Linked DNA regions of Homo sapiens: region 1 is linked to region 2. Evidence: promoter capture Hi-C in human tissues and cell types (Jung and others, 2019). All regions are on one chromosome and are shown on one strand. The core of a region is centred on a gene start or on the middle of the fragment in contact, and the rest is flanking DNA. Distances in the headings are between cores, read along the strand shown.

Region 1 (2,700 bases), core at 151-2,650, 63 kb before region 2:
CCACTGCGCTCCAGCCTGGCAACAGAGTGAGATTCGGTCTAAAAAAAAATAAGAACTTCTCCATCTGTCAGCAGTTACCCCATGACTATTAACAGATAAATGTACACAATTATAACCTACTTTTTAAAAAAATCCAATCCTGCAGCTTAATTTTCTTCTTCAGACTTAACCCCTCTTAATGAATTGAGTCTAATTCTCCAAAAACATCATACTAGAGCAGTGTTACTCAAAAGGTCATCTATGGTCAAGAAACTTGGAAAATTCTGGGGGAAAATGAGTAAAAACAAGTAAACCCATTTCTTTACTGTACAACTTCCCAGGATGTGTGTATACAATGTGAACTGTGATCATCCAAAAAGAAGTCAGAGTACTTCCCAAATTTACTTGAGTAGGGAACCCTTTCTACATGGAACATCTTCAGAGACTAGAGTTCCATCATAGAAGACATTTTCCAAAAAGTACCCAGCTACAAGTGCCAAGTAGGGCATTACAGAGAAGATGCTGGCGATGCTCACGCTAAAGGATGAAATCCAAACTTCTTAGTTTGACATTAGCATATCCTCAACAATTTGTTCTCAACTATCATGCTAATACTTCTAAAAGGTGCTGAGTTTGAGTCTTGGTTCTGCCATTTACTGGCCACAAAGTCTTGGGCAAAATGCTTATAAGATGCAGATTATGCCATGAATTATAAAATGAAAATCATACCATCTACCAAGAAAACTTCAATTAAGAGTTATGAAAAACAATATCTTAAAGTTATTTTAAAAAACTGTATAACTCTATACAGTTATTAAAAATAACTGAATTGTACTTATAATAGGTGAATTTAATAGCATGTAAATTACATTTCAATAAAGGTTTTGGTTTGGTTTTGTTTTTGAGACAGCTCTGTTGCCCAGGCTGGAGTGCAGTGCCACAATCTCAACTCACTGCAATCTCTGCCTCCCAGGCTGAGGAAATCCTCCCACCTCAGCCTCCCAAGTAGCTGGGACTACAGGCGCACACCACTATGCCTGGCCAATAAAACTTTTCGTTTAATTAGTAGAGGAAAAGGGGGATTATTCAGTAAATGGACTTAAGACAACTGAGTATCCATCTAGGGAAAAAACTGAATACCTTACACCAATATTTACAAAAGATTAAAGATCATGGCGTAAAGTAATAAAAGTATACATCTACTGTAAGATCTTTACAAGAATCATATAACGATTGAACTTTCTCCTCCAGTTACAATGATATACTCATTATATGCTTAAAATCTCCCACACTTTACCATCTGGAGTATAATCAATTTCTAATATACATACTCAAGACTCAGGTATGATGAGAAAGAAAAAATACTTGGAGTTACACATTGAGTTTGGGTCCTACTTGTGCCATTTACATACTATATGAGCATGAGCAAGTAACTGTAAATTTCATTTCTTCATCTGAAAAAAGAGGTTAAATACCATCTCACTCATAGGGTTGTGGTGTGGAATCAAATGAAATAATCTATGTAAAGTGCCTAGTATGTTTTCTAACAGGTCATCATAAACATTATTTTTTAATTTGCCCTTCTCTAGAAAGTATTCCCCAATTATTCCAAGCTGTTAAAACCTTTACCTCTTAAGATACTATTTATATCACTCATTTGAGAAAAAAAAACTTCCTTTTGACTTTTTATTGCTGTCTTCAACTACAGTATTTAAGCCTTTACATTTTCAGGTATTTCTGTACTATCTACTAATGTAAATTATCTTATCTTTGTTTTGTTTTGAATTTATTTTTTATTATTTTTTGTAGAGACAGGGTCTCATTATGTTGCTGGTCTCGAACTCCTGGGCTTAGGAAATTGAGGCTGCAGTGAGCTGTCATCATACCACTGCACTACAGCCTGGGTGACAGAGCAAGATGCTGTCTCAAAAAAAAAACTTCCTGGGCTCAAGTGATCCTCCTGCATTGGCCTCCCACAGTGCTGAGTTTACAGGTGTAAGCCACTGCATTCGGCCTTAAATTATCTGTAACTACACTGTATGTATCTGTAATTATGCACACCTTTCACTTTTTGGTACTCCTTAATCTAATAGCACATTTTTGTTAGGTTTTTTTTTTTTTAAGCTTGGTGGCAAGTTGTTATTTTTGAGAAAAAGTCTCCCTCTGTCACCCAGGCTGGAGTGCAGTGGCATAATCAGCTCACTGCAGCCTCAAACTCCTGAATTCAAGCAATCCTCCCTCCTTGGCCCCTCAAAGTACTGGGACTACAGGCATGAGTTACTGAGCCCAGCCTAGCACATTTGTACAAACTTTTATTTTCAATTAAATGCTTTTTTTTTTTTAAGGCAGAGTCTCACTCTGTTGCCCAGGTTGGAGTGCAGTGGCGTGATCTCAGCTCACTGCAACCTCCACCTCCTGGGTTCTACAGGTGTGCGCCACCACGCCCATATAATTTTTTGTATTTTTAGTAGAGGTGGGGTTTCGCCATGTTGCCCAGGCTGGTCTCAAACTCGTGAGCTCATGCAATCCACCCGCCTCGGCCTCCCAAAGTGCTGGGATTACAGGCATGAGCCACGGCACCCGGCTGATTGCCTCCACTTTTCCAATGAGGAAACTGAGACCTCAGAGATGCCAGATGACAGTACAGTGAGTGCAGGCCCAAGAAACAGGGGCTCCTCTACCCCCTCAGCAGATACTCACACCATCCTTTTCTTTATCGGA
Region 2 (2,700 bases), core at 129-2,628:
ATACAGTATTGTATTTTTTGGGACTAGCTTATTTCACTTAGCATAATGTCAAGATTCATCCATATTTTAGCTGTATCAGAATTTCCCTCCTCTTTAAAGCTGAAAAATACTCAGTCGTATGTATATACTGCATTTTTGTTTATCATTCATCTGTTGTGGACATGGGTTACTTCTGCCTTTTGACTACTGTGAATAATGCTGCTTTCAACACGGGTGTACAGACATCTCTTCAAGACCCTGCTTTCAATTCTTTTGGCTACATGGCCAGAAATGGAATTGTTGGACCGTATTTTTTTTAATTTTTTGAGAAACCTCTATAGTGTTTTCCATAGTGGCTGCACCATGGTAGACACTTCTAAAGTTTCTGCCATACCCTAGGGGAAAGAATTATTGTACTGTAGACAACATCTAAGGAAAAGAACTGTATGGCCAAGAGTAAACAGTCAATTTTCATGCTTTATTAGAAAATAATTAAAATAATTAAGAGCGTGGAATTCCTAGAATTGGGAGAGACATTATGAACCATTTGGTCCATCCCTTTCCTTTACGATGAGTAAACAGAGGTTTGTGGAGGTCAAACGGCTAGTTAAGTAAGGGAAGAACCAGAACTGGCATCCAGAGCTTTCCAATCCTCAACTTATTGCAAAGAAAATAATAATAATTTTCAACTCGAAAAATTATGCGATGAAGAACAAGAACTATTGAGCGGATGATTCGCAACATCCTCTGGGATGTATTTTCTGTGTGTTTTGTTTTGAAGGCTGTTTGTTAACCTCCCTAATTGCCTTGGTTGACATTGAAACCCTGCCTGTTTTTCTTGATCCCGCCGCTGACTGGGTCCTGAGCATCCTAGGAGATGGAGGCAGAGACAAAGGAAATCAGTCCACAATTAAGAATGGAATGGTTCTTAATGGAATGCTCGCCTGTGCGCTGGCGGGAGTTGCCAGCGTGCCGAGCGGATTCAGCGCCTTTCTCAGGGCCTCAAAGATCCCAGCGCACTAGGAGGGTGGTTTGTGGCTCCCTGCAGTCCCCACGCCCCGGATCCAAACGACAGAGTTCGGGGACTCACAGGGGCAGCAAGGCGGCAGAGCCGCGGAGCCAGTGCAACTTCTCCGGCGGGACCGCGCCCAATCTTCCCCGCCGCAGTCGGGGAGCCCCGGGGGCCGCCGAGCACAGGCTGCGGACCGCGGCGGGCACGTGGGCTCGGCTGCAGCGCTGCGCCAGGCACCGGCTGCTCGGCTCTGCCCAACCTCTCCGCTCCCGCCTCGGTCCCTGCCTCTGGGGAGAGGGTTCCTCCCCCCTTCCACTTTGCACCAGTCCGAGGGAATTTGCGGTCGGTGACGCGCATCCTTAAGAGAGCCACCTGCAGCGCGAGGCGCGCCGCTCCAGGCGGCATCGCAGGGCTGGGCCGGCGCGGCCTGGGGACCCCGGGCTCCGGAGGCCATGCCGGCGTTGGCGCGCGACGGCGGCCAGCTGCCGCTGCTCGGTAAGGCCCCGCTCGCTCGCTCGCAGCCCCTCGCGGTCCCTCAGCCCCCACCCCGCAGTGTGGACCCGGGCGCGCGCCTCCTCCGGCCCAGCCGCCTCGCTCCTCCCCGCGCTCGCTCCTTCCATTGCCTCCCGCGCCCCTCCCCTCTTTCGCGCCCTCCGGACTCGCCCACTACTTGCCTGCGGCCCCGGCGTTTCCCACCCCGCGTCCTCTTCCCTCTTCTCCGAAGTCTCTCCTCTGGCTCGGGCCGCGGTCCCGAGTGGCGGCCCGGACTTCGCAGACGGCCTCGCCGAGGCGCTGCGCCGGGTCTGGGGCAGCTCGGCCCGCGCGCTCGGGTGCTGGGCCGTCCGTGGGAGTCTGCGGCCGCGAACTCGGCGCCAGGTGGCCAAGGACCTCTCCTGGCCCGGCCCTTGGATACTGTAGACACCTGGGTGTCGTCTTTAACTCTTCTTTTGAGGTTTTGATTTATGGAGGGAACTCTGATGGGAAAATGCGTCCGCGTTCTCCCCTAGAGCGAGTCATCCTCAATAACGATACCCCCCAGCCCCGCCGAATTTTGGTTGGATCAACGAATAGTTTACCTAGGAAATATTATGCAAACAGATTTACATATTAAAATACTAGCTGTCCCTTTCTTCTAGTCTCTTCTTATCCTGGCATAAACCCCAAAGGGGTTTTCAAGGACTCCGAGGACTGTCCCCAAAGAATCTGCTGGGTAGCATAGTTGTTATTGAAAAAAAAAATCTTCCCATCGGTTCGCGTCAGCTTTCTATTTGGAAAGATGAGAGGACTGAATCGAATTTGGGTTGAAGGCGACAGAGTTCTGGGTGCCCGGCAGCTCCGGTCCCTGTCCTAGGTCTGCAACCTTGGGACTGACACTCACCTCCCCCGGCCTCCGCGTCCTCATCTGTGCAGTGAGGGAGTCCGTCCGAGTCCCCTTCAGCTCTGAAATGCTAGGACTTGAAGTCTCTGTGGTAAATAGAGAAAATGCTTGCAATATAGAAGTGCAGGAATTATATCCAATAGCTTTTGTTACAAATAATTCTGAAATATAAAAAGTAAAAAATGGAAATCGGGGGAAAAGAGTTGAAAAACAAAGACATTTTAGTTCTTAAATAGTTATCTTTACTAGTTAGTAAATCTGTAATTTCAAATGTGTAGTACAATATGTTTTCCAGATTCCGTTAATACAAAATGTTAGCTTTCTATTATGT

Evidence for each region. Contacts are between HindIII fragments. The study calls those that stand out against the background at their distance.
Region 1: a contact is called between a fragment that was not itself captured here and the fragment with the promoter of FLT3 in region 2, in 1 of the 25 tissues and cell types used here (stomach).

The regions. Positions count from the first base shown.
Region 1 is chr13:28,162,268-28,164,967 of GRCh38, reverse strand. All of the region lies in intron 1 of PAN3 (poly(A) specific ribonuclease subunit PAN3), which reads right to left. Among named protein-coding and RNA genes, the nearest start is that of PAN3-AS1, 24 kb to the right of the region's middle. The HindIII fragment of the contact is 8,119 bases long and covers 1-2,700 here.
Region 2 is chr13:28,099,254-28,101,953 of GRCh38, reverse strand. FLT3 (fms related receptor tyrosine kinase 3) reads left to right here and starts at 1,378. Exons shown (of 24, transcript NM_004119.3): 1 at 1,378-1,486. The coding sequence starts at 1,444. RefSeq lists an enhancer at 965-1,094 and silencers at 1,205-1,264, 1,385-1,544. The HindIII fragment of the contact is 18,739 bases long and covers 1-2,700 here.